3 separate regions of the Homo sapiens genome follow, and all the other regions are linked to region 3. The links are contacts of gene promoters, found by promoter capture Hi-C in blood cells and fetal thymus (Javierre and others, 2016). All regions are on one chromosome and are shown on one strand. Each heading gives the region's core, a stretch centred on a gene start or on the middle of the fragment in contact. The rest is flanking DNA. Distances are from core to core; before and after follow the strand shown. Region 1 has its middle 21 kb from the start of TLNRD1. Region 2 has its middle 22 kb from the start of MESD. Region 3 holds the start of STARD5 (StAR related lipid transfer domain containing 5).

Evidence for each region. Contacts are between HindIII fragments. The CHiCAGO score rates a contact against its expected background, and 5 or more counts as called.
Region 1: a contact is called between a fragment that was not itself captured here and the fragment with the promoter of STARD5 in region 3, in 3 of 17 cell types (M2 macrophages, monocytes and M1 macrophages). The highest score is 7.3, in M2 macrophages.
Region 2: a contact is called between a fragment that was not itself captured here and the fragment with the promoter of STARD5 in region 3, in 1 of 17 cell types (neutrophils). The highest score is 5.6, in neutrophils.

Annotation. Positions count from the first base shown.
Region 1 is chr15:81,020,177-81,023,982 of GRCh38, reverse strand. No RefSeq gene overlaps it. Among named protein-coding and RNA genes, the nearest start is that of TLNRD1, 21 kb to the right of the region's middle. RefSeq lists an enhancer at 484-633. The HindIII fragment of the contact is 3,393 bases long and covers 188-3,580 here.
Region 2 is chr15:80,966,420-80,970,004 of GRCh38, reverse strand. It overlaps a transcript of MESD not described here. Among named protein-coding and RNA genes, the nearest start is that of MESD, 22 kb to the left of the region's middle. RefSeq lists an enhancer at 2,888-3,403. The HindIII fragment of the contact is 1,073 bases long and covers 1,550-2,622 here.
Region 3 is chr15:81,322,302-81,325,752 of GRCh38, reverse strand. STARD5 (StAR related lipid transfer domain containing 5) reads left to right here and starts at 1,612. Exons shown (of 6, transcript NM_181900.3): 1 at 1,612-1,752; 2 at 2,805-2,854; 3 at 3,213-3,345. The coding sequence starts at 1,654. TMC3-AS1 (TMC3 antisense RNA 1) reads right to left here and starts at 1,420. Exons shown (of 7, transcript NR_120365.1): 1 at 1,192-1,420. RefSeq lists a silencer at 1,071-1,120. The HindIII fragment of the contact is 9,334 bases long and covers 1-3,031 here.

The DNA of each region.
Region 1 (3,806 bases), core at 635-3,134, 300 kb after region 3:
ACTCGGCAGGGAGAAAACTGCCCACTGACTACCAAAGATGACACAGCATGAATATTTCCTCCAGCTACACAATGGAGAAGCTGAGTAATATGCAGAATTCACTAAATGACGGGGACTAAGATCACAGGGGTTTTAAGGTCAGCTGAAACTCGATTGCCGTAGTTTTCCTTCCTCTTGGGTAAAAGCTTCTCTGAGCAAACCACATTTTTTCAGAGAATCAAGGCTAGAGTCCCTGGTGAGGCAGTTCGTTCCTGGCCTTCTGTCCTGGGCCACGTGCTTCTCAGCCCTTCCCTGTTGGGCTGCGGGAGGGTTCAAGATGGAATGAGGTAATGCTGGCAGGACAGCTGCCCAGGGAGCGAACGAAACTCTGCCCTGGTTGCAGCCTAAGCAGGACAGGAAGCAAATTAGCAGAAGCAAGCAGTAATTTGACTGCCAACAATAGGAGTCAAAACTGCATTTCTGACCCTGCACCGTTGATCCTCCTCACAACAATAGTCATCCACAAGCCATAAAAAGGCCGATGAAACACTATTTGAGATTGCAAATGCTGGAGTCAAAAGAGTCCTGGGTCCAAATTCTGGCTCTGCCACCCATCCGCTGTACGACCTCGGACAACTTGCCTAAGGTCTGTTAGACTCTGATTCTTAAATGTGCATATTTCATCAAGGTACTGTATGAAATGAGGATGTATGTAAAGTGTGTAGTACATAGCAAGAGCCCAATAAATAGACAGTATGTTCTATGGGCTTTTGTGAACCCCTGCCATCTTGAGTTTATTAACCCTCCATGCGTAAAAACTCCCTCACATTTTTTGCTTCCTTACGTTCTTTTTTTTTTTTTTGAGATGGAGTTTTGCTCTTGTTGCCCAGGCTGGAGTGTAATGGCGCAATCTTGGCTCACTGCAACCTCCGCCTCTGGGGTTCAGGCGATTCTCCTGCCTCAGCCTCCCAAGTACCTTAGATTACAGGTGCCTGCCACCATACCCGGCTAATTTTTTGTATTTTTTAGTAGAGACGGGGTTTCACCATGTTGGCCAGGCTGGTCTCAAACTCCTGACCTCAGGTAATCCACCCGCCTTGGCCTCCCAGAGTGCTGGGATTACAGGTGTGAGCCAACGCGCCTAGGGTTATCATGAGGATTAAATGAGTTAATGTATACAGTCAGCCCTCTGTATCTGTGGGCTCCATATCTGTGGGTTCAACGAACTGCAGACAGAAAATATTTGAAAGAAAAAATGATGTCTGGGCTGGGTGTGGTGGCTCATACCTGTAATCCCAGCACTATTGGAGGCCAAGGCAGGTGGATCGCTTGAGGTCAGGAGTTCAAGACCAGCCTGGGCAACATGGTGAAACCCCGTCTCCATTAAAAATACAAAAATTAGCTGGGCATGATGGTGCATGCCTGTAGTCCTAGCTACTCAGGAGGCTGAAGCAGGAGAATCCCTTGAACCCAGGAGGTAGAGGTTGCAGTGAGCCAAGATCCACCACTGCACTCCAGCCTGGGCAACAGAGTGAGACTCTTTAAAAAAAAAAAAAAAAAAGAAAGAAAGAAAGAAAAGAAAAGAAAAGAAAAAATGATGTCTGATGTCTGAACTGAACAAGTAGAGACTTTTTTATATTGTCATTATTCCCTAAACAACACGGTATAACAATTATTTACATAACATCTACATTGTAGTAGGTATTATAAGTAATCTAGATATGATTTAAAGTATACAGGGCTGGGTGCAGTGGCTCACGCCTATAATCCCAGCACTTCTGTAGTCCAAGGCAGGCAGAAGGCTTGAGCCCACAAGTTCAAGACCAGCCTGGGCAACATGGTGAAACCCATCTCTACAAAAAAAATAGAAGCTAATCTGTGAAGATGAAGACTATATGTATGAGTCATTCACATGCTGGTGGTAAATTATCAATCTGCAAAATTAATCTGCAATATATAAAAATTAGCCCCATGTGGTAGCCTGCACCTGTAGTTCCAGCTACTCAGAAGGATGAAGTGGGAGGATCACCTGAGACCCTAGAGGTCGAGACTACAGTGAGCCATGATCGTGCCACTACACTCCAGCTTGGGTGATGGAATAAGACTCCATCTCAAAATGATAATAATAAAGTATACAGGAGGATGTGCACAGATTATATGCAAATACAACACCATTTTACATCAGGGAGTTGAGCATCCAGGGATGTTAGTATCCAAGGGGGTCCTGGAATCAATCCCCCACAGATACAAAGGAACAATTCTAAGTGCTTGGAAATGCACCTAGAACATAGAAAGTATCATGTAGGTGTCAGTTATTATTAGGAAAGCCTGGGGCAAAGGATACGAAATTACAAGGAAGATGATGCTGAAGACAAATTCTCCCATTTCCCAACTCAGGGGCCTGGCTAGAGTCACTGTTTCTCTCTGCAAACTGGCCATTTCCATTTCCACCGTCTTTTGCTGCCAACACGGAGAAGAGCTTCTGTGCTACAGCCGAGCCACATTTTGGTGCACGAAGATGTGCGGGTTGCCTGAGGATTCTAAGCAGCAGTTCTAGTACGTTTTCCACAGGCAAAATGCACTTGAGGCTCCAAACTACCAGCTTTGATCAACTGTTATGTGAGGTAAGGCCTTATCTGGTTCATCCTAAAGCATCCTAATGAAAACAGAAAACTGTAAGGGGAAACAGATGCAAGTTTGTGGCAGAGGGAAAAATGCACTGGAGTCTTGGGAAAGATGGGGAGGGAGGGCTATTCCTTTTTAAACACAGCATCTAAGATTAAAGTGCTTGTTATTACAATTATCCTCCAAAGAAATCCCATAAAATCCCCTCATTAGACTTTGACCCCAGACTTTAGACTCAAAAAATGAGAATTTGCTTTTTTTTTCAGTAGGGATCGTACCACGTAAAATATAGTATAAAAATAAAATAATAAAAAAGTCAAAAAATAAAAATAAAGGGAAAAATTTTAAATAAATTTAAAAAGGAAAAAAGAGAAAGAAAGTAACTAAATTTTTTTTAAAAAGAATTCACTTTTTTTGCTTTTCTTTGCAATTCTGGCGATGAGCTGACTTTCCCTGCGGCAACACCCACAAAGCAGTTCATGTCTCCTCTTTGAGCTTCAAGGGCACCATTTTTAAAATGGGGTTAAAAACACTTACCAAATGAAATATTGTATGGAATGGGTTTGGAGGTACCTCAAGCATAGCTGGTGATTATTGTTAGCATTAATATTTACTTCCAATGCCAAAAAACTGCCCCTCATTTTAAACTCCTTCTCTTAAGAGCTTTCTCTCAGCTCCTCCTTGCCTATAAGCCCAGACCCTGCTCTTTCATTACTAATTTGGTTTGCACAAAGATGTCATCCTAGAGTCCCATGGCAGAAATGGACCCTGGGCCACCCCACTGCCTTCCAACAAGTCCCTAAAGAGCCCGTCCCAGATTGCTAGAAATAATTAGACACCTAAAAAAGGAAAGTACACAGTCATGCTGATTCATACCCTTCAACTATTTAGGGGGCACAGAATGGCCCCACTACAAATGACCTAGTCTAATGCCCTCATTTAAAGACAAGGAAACTGAGGCCTAGAGAGGGAAGCTTGTTCAAGGTCATGCAGGGAGGTAGAGTTGAGCCCCAACTAGAGCTCTTAGCCATTGACTGCCAGAGAGCACTGACTCATTGTTCCAGGAGTTTGTGTACCATAGACAGGATGGTTTTGGGAAAATCACTTGAAGAAACATTAGGTCTCTTTCTCCTTGGGATTAGGGCTATTTGTGTTTCTATCTTATTCCCCAGCTAGAAGCTGAGCTACTAGAGAAGGCAAGG
Region 2 (3,585 bases), core at 837-3,336, 360 kb after region 3:
CTTCATCCTCATAGCAAGCAGCCCTATGCAGTAAATACTGTCATCCCCATTTTGCACACAAGGAAACTGAGGCACATAGCCATTCAGTATTTTCCCCAAGGTCACGCTGCAAGGCAGTGACAAAGCCAGGATTTTTTGTTGTTGTTTTTTAAGACAGAGCCTTGCTCTGTCGCCCAGACTGGAGTGCAGTGGCGCCATCTCGGCTCACTGCAACTTCCGCCTCCCGGATTCAAGTGATTCTCCTGCCTCAGACTCCTGAGTAGCTGGGATTACAGGCACCCGCCACCACACCTGGCTAATTTTTGTGTTTTTAGTGGAGACGGGGTTTCACTATATTGGCCAGGGTGGTCTCGAGCTCCTGACCTCAACTGATCCGCCTGCCTCGACCTCCCAAAGCGCTAGGGTTACAGGCGTGAGCCACCATGCCCAGCCTCAAACCCAGGATTTAAACTCAGGCAGGCAGACTCCAAAACTGACACCAGCCACTGTAATCTGCTTGGGAGAGGGGCTGCTCCCCTTCTCTGGACCTCTTCTCAGACCCATGTGCCAAGTGTTGATACAAGCACTCCCCATGTAAGTGCTGAACACCAATAAGTTTCGGGAAGTGTGCAGGCAGTGGAGATAAAGATAGCAAGGCAGGCAAGGTCCCTGCCTTCTTGGTATTTACAGGTTGAATATTAAAAGACACACAATGTCTTTCAGCATGGAGTGTGCCTACTGTGTGCAAGCTCTGGACATCCTTACCTAACTGTGACATGCTACCCACTGTGTGCAGGTCTTTACATACTTTATTTCATTTACTCTCATTTTATTTTCAGTTAGGGTCTCACTCTGTTGCTCACGCTGGAGTGCACTGGCACGATGGCAGCTCACTGCAGCCTCGACCTCCAGGCTCAAGTGGTCCTCCCACCTCAATCTCCTGGGTAGCTGGGACCACAGGTGTGCACCATCACACCCAGCTAATTTTTTAATATTTTTTGTAGAGACAGGGTCTCCCTATGTTGCCCTGGCTGGTCTTGAACTCCTGGGTTCAAGCAATCCTCCCACCTTGACCTCCCAAAGTGTTGGGATTACAGGTGTGAACCACTGTGCCCGACCTCATTTACCCTTCACAACCCCACAAGGTTGGTATTAGTTAACATTTACTATGTGGCCCTTTGAAGCACAGTTCTGGTGTTGGACTTCCCAGCTCTGCATTTTATTAGCTGTATCATGTTGGACAAGTTATTTAAGGACCTCACTCATCTAAGCCTGTAGGTGCTAATAAAAGTTCCCATTTCAGAGAAGTATTATAAGGATTAAATGAGCAAGTCCCTGTGAAGCACTTAACACAGCTTTCTTTTTTATTTTATTTTTAAAGTAAAGAGGTGGGGTCTCACTATTTTACCTTGGCTGGTCTTAAACTCCTGAGCTCAAGCGATCCTCCCACCTTGGCCTTCCAAAGGAGTACAGGTGTGAGCCACTGTGCCTGGCCAACAGAGCTTTCAGTACATGTTAACTATTATCATTTGTGTGTGTGTTTTGTGCTTCAGGTGACTAGACAGAAGCTTGTAGGGGTTAAGCCCCTTGCTGAGAGTCACAGCTAGGAGAAGGCAGGATAACATCCTGCCTGGGCTGTTTTCTTCTGGAGGCACTGCAGTTTTCACTGTGGCTTGACACTCTAAGGGAGGGGCTGGGATGGAATTCTACATGGGCCACAGAGATTGCTCCAGAAGGAGAATGGCCACCTTGCCCAGTGTAGGGTATGCCAGAGCAGAGCGGGTCAGCTTCCTTCCAGGCAGAAACATCTGCCGTTCCCACCACCTTGGTGCTCTGCTCTCAGATACCTGCATGGCTGAGGACCTGCTCTCAGGTGAGATGGTTTGCCCTGAAAGGGGCAGAGCTGCCAGAGTCCAAGCGGTCTGCAGGAGACTGCAGTTTGACCATGCTGCTTGCTGGTACAAGGAAATTTTTGGTAGGCAGATTTCAGGAGGTCCCACGCAAGTGTCACAAGCCAGAAACTTGAGATGTTGGACCCCTTTCCACTTGATCCAGCATCTGGGAAAACCTGAGCCTGCAGTTGGGGCCACTTGGCCAACTCTCCATAGATCTTGTTGAATCAGCTTAAACCTGGGCTTGTCAAATTCTGGATCTCAGCAGCCCAACTTGCAATTTTAAATCTTTGACCACTGTTCCCTGGCAGACCTAGGGCAATTTTTGTTTTCTCCAGAGAAGTCTGCCGAAGTTTCTGAGGTGAAGTTTCCAAGCTGATGAATTGGAAGCCCAGACTTGGCAGCTCTCAGCCAAGGAGGGCTGCAGTTGGTGGAATGTGAAGAATGCCCAGGGACATCTGGTCTGCCTTGCATCTGTTTTTCAGGCCAGCCCGCATTCTTCCTGCAGGAGAGAGCTTCAGCCATAGGCCTAGAAACACTGGGGCCCCTTTGATCCATGCCTCCTACCTCAGCTCCAAGTTGGACGACATTGAGTGCCATACTTGCTTTCCCTGGGCCTTACCTCTTCTATAAACAGGGTGGCAAGTCCTGCCAGGCCTGGGATTTACATGCCAGGGTCTGGAAGAAACAAGACAATAGGGATCCTTATTCTAATGCAAAGGAGGTCCCTGACTCCCTTAGGATAGAAGCTTCCTTACAAATTCTCTGAGGTCCTTGCTCTAAATTAAAACTCCCTGAGGGCTCCTACTTCTTTTCTTTTCTTTTTTCTTTTTCTTTTTTTGAGATGGAGTTTCACTCTTGTTGCCCAGGCTGGAGTGCAATGGTGTGATCTCGGTTCACCACAACCTCCACCTCCCGGGTTCAAGTGATTCTCCTGCCTCAGCCTCCCAAGTAGCTGGGATTACAAGCATGCACCACCATGCCCAGCTAATTTTGTATTTTTAGTAGAGGCGGGGGTTTCTTCATGTTGGTCAGGCTGGTCTCGAACTCCTGACCTCAGGTGATCTGCTCACCTAAGCCTCCCAAGTGCTAGGATTACAGGAGTGAGCCACTGCGCCCGGCCAAGGGCTTCTACTTCTAGTTTTAAAATCAATGCCTTGAGCGCATCACCTCGATGGGCCTCAGTTGGAATGGGCCAGCATTTCCCAGAGGAATTTAACCAGCGGAACTGCCCAATAAGGAGGAGTTGGCCACTTCAAGCCAGTTATTTGGGCTTTTGAGATGCAGAATCAGGAGGAAGAGAAGAGGTGCAAAGGTTGTGGAGCAGAGAGGCAGCAGGGTATGGAAGAAGAGGGCCTGAATCAAATACACACACCCACAGTGTACAGTGGCAACTATGCAAGGTGCTTGTAGCTTGCAACAGAGGGATTTTCCAAGGGAGGCCAGAGAAAAGCTTCCTGGAGCAGGTGGCCACTAAGCTGAGATTTGAGCAGGCATGAGTGGACACAGAGGCAGCCTGGAAGCTGGGGGCAGTGGCACAGCAGGAGGGGTGGAAGCTTGGTTTGTGTGTGTGTGCACATGTGTGTGTGAACACACCTCTAATATGGGGAGCACTGGGCCCGTTGAGCTCTCAGGTCTCTCTGTCTGTAATACTCTGTGACTTTCAGAAACCAAAGGGCCTCTGCCACTGGCTCTGCAAATGAGTAGTTTGTTA
Region 3 (3,451 bases), core at 363-2,862:
AATTTTGATGTGCTTAATTTTTTAATGGGATTAATTTACTAGTCTTTTCTTTTATGGGTCCTAAGAGTATTTACATGCGTTACTTCCCTCTCTCTTCACAAGGGCATAGGGAACATTTATTTGTTTGTTTGTTTATTTTTATTACTTTTTGAGACAGGATCTTGCTCTGCAGCCCAGGCTGGAGTGCAGTGGCGCGATCACGGTTCACTGCTGCCTCTGCCTCCCGGGTTGAAGCGATCCTCCCACCTCAGCCCCCCCAAGTAGCTGGGATTACAGCCCCGCGCCACCATGCCCGGCTAATTTTTGAATTTTTAGTAGAGACGGAGTCTCGCCATGCTGCTCAGGCTGGTCTCGAACTCCTAGGTTCAAGTGATCTCCTGCCTCAGCCTCCCAAAGTGCTGGGATTACAGGCGTGAGCCACCGGACCCCGCCAGGAACATTTATGATGTATCCCATTTCACCTTGGAGTAAACTGAAGCTCAAAGAATAATGAGTGAAACTGGGTTTAGATCTTGAGCTCCCTAATTCCCCATCCAGGTCTTCTTCACAGCCTGGCTGCCCTTCACATCTTCCAAAAAGGTCTTTCAAGTTGTCAATTTGTTTACACTACTCTTCCAAACATTTATATCGAAAGTTTAAAGGAAACAATAAGTACATAAAAAAGAAAGATAAGAAATAGACCTCAGTATTAACCTTTTCAAATATTTAGTTGGTGATAGCGCAGAAGAGGGGAAACCGAGGCTGTCCTTGCCATTCACGCTGTGAAGATGCGACCCTGGCTCACTCCCCGCAGCTCCAGGGCAGCTGGAAGCAGAGAACTCCCATATCTCTAATAAAGCCGGGCCTCTCGCAGATGTCAGCGCATTGCATTGACTCCTGGACACCTGCACTAAAGGCCCTTCAGGCACCTCCAACTAAATATGCCCAGAACTGAACTCACCCTATCTCTTCTCCATCTCAGGTAAGCTGCCAGGTGGCCAAGGCTGGGAGTCATGATGCTTTCTCCTTCTGAACATCCACAATCGGGGGCAGAGACCTTCACCTTCCATCTCCTAAACACTCTACGATGGGTCCTCTTCTCTTCACCCCCACTCCCCGCACCCCTGCCACACACCTCTCCCACCATTGCACGCGCCCAGTCTCCACGCGCATTTCCTCTCCCACCCTGCAGCAGCCGCCCTAGCATATTACCTCTAATGCAAATCGCACCACTGTCCCGCAGGCTGAAAGCCTCGGTGCACTCAGGACAAGAGTCCACGCTTCTTAAACAAACGGTCGACGTTGTCCGCGACCTGGCCCGGCCCAACGGGTCAGACCGTCATTGGCCATCTCACAGTCCCGGCGCTCCAGAGCCCCTCCCACAGCGGGACATGAAGGAGGCGGATACGGCTGGACCTTACCCGGCCCGCCCAAGGCGTCCGGGACCCGCCCAGGCGCTGACGCTAACTGGAGAGCCTGGCCCCGCGGTCTCCTTGTCCTGCCAATCTCCGGGAGGCGGGATCCGTCTGAGGGCCTGGACCAATTCGGGAGCGGGGGCGCGGAAAGAGGCGGGGCTACGAGCTCCTCCCAGAGCTCCAGCCTCCAGGCACCCGGGATCCAGCGCCGCCGCTCATAACACCCGCGACCCCGCAGCTAAGCGCAGCTCCCGACGCAATGGACCCGGCGCTGGCAGCCCAGATGAGCGAGGCTGTGGCCGAGAAGATGCTCCAGTACCGGCGGGACACAGCAGGCTGGAAGATTTGCCGGGAAGGCGTGAGTGAGGAGCTGGGCGGGAAGGGGTCGCGGAGACGGCTTCGTGGAGCCCGGGTCCCCAGAAGCCCCCAAGCGCCTCCTCTCCCCGTTGTTTTCTGCTCCCCAATCCCCTGGACCCGATTGAGAGGGATTCCAATGGGGATTGTTTTCTTCTTTAAAAAAAAGATTGGGCCTGTTATGCTCACAATGACTTCAGGTGGTAAGTATCTGTTCCTTTCACTCAGTGACTTGCCCAAGGTCACCTGGCTGTTGAATGCTGTTTAGGACTGGATGTTTCTGTGACAGTGGTAAAAGTAAATAAATTGCATTTAAGGGGTAAGCAGGTGTTTAAAAACAAAACAAAATGAAAGAATGTGGTCGCAGCTAAGGAGGTTTTTACATGTTGTTTAAATCCAGTAAAGTCTGATCCAGCATCTGATGCATACTAAGGTTTTCTTCTGTGTTCATTACAGCATGAACCCCTCTCTTTGTCGTTGCCAGAGGGTAGCATGGGAGTAGTTTTGCTTGACCCTTCTGACTTTTCATTACAGCATGAACCCCTCTCTTTGTCGTTGCCAGAGGGTAACATGGGAGTAGTTTTGCTTGACCCTTCTGACTTTTCATTACAGCATGAACCCCTCTCTTTGTCGTTGCCAGAGGGTAGCATGGGAGTAGTTTTGCTTGACCCTTCTGACTTTTCATTACAGCATGAACCCCTCTCTTTGTCGTTGCCAGAGGGTAGCATGGGAGTAGTTTTGCTTGACCCTTCTGACTTTTCATTAAGTAGCCCTGGGTTGCTCAAGGAAACAGAATGCCTGGTGGCTTTTAAGATAATTTTAAAAACCACCCACGGCTCTTGGAGTCAGCCAGTTAAGATCTTTTTCTTCATCACATTCTGCTGTGGGGACAGCTTTGCCCAAGACTAGTCCCAGCTTTTCCACGTATGGGTTGCACAGCCTTGGAGAGTCGTATCTCTTGAGGCCTCTTACCCCTCTTCTGTAGAACAGGGGATTAAGCCAGGTGACCAGAGCCCTTCTAGCTCTAAAATTCTGTGGTTCTGTGCCTTTTGACAGAATGGAGTTTCAGTTTCCTGGAGGCCATCTGTGGAGTTTCCAGGGAACCTGTAAGTGCATGCCTCGTTCAAAGATTACCAGAGGTGCCGCACCCTTCCTGGTATCTTTATGGGCCTGCCTCCTAAAATATTCAAATCAACCCTATAACCTGTGATCACTTGTCCTCCAGAAAAGCCTTACTGTTTTTAATGAAATCATTTCCAGCAAACTGTATTCTTGTGAAAGCTTACTGTCCATTTCTGCAGGCCTGAAGGGAGGCGGGGCTAGTGACTTTCAGCCCCTTCTCTGCAAGTCTGTCCTAAAGAGTAGTGACAGACATGGCATGGTCCACCTTCTAGTCCTTAGATACAATCTCAAGATAACAAGTTTGATTGATGCGTTGGGGTCAAATTCCTTTTCGTGCTCCAGGTACCGAGGAGAAGGCATTGTATATGGGACACTAGAGGAGGTGTGGGACTGTGTGAAGCCAGCTGTTGGAGGCCTACGAGTGAAGTGGGATGAGAATGTGACCGGTTTTGAAATTATCCAAAGCATCACTGACGTAAGTCTTTCCAAGCATGTTATCTCTAGATAGTGTCTGGGCCAGGCTATAGTAACCCCCTCCCATTTCTTCTGGAAGGGGTCCGTGATACCTTTTGTTAAGGGGG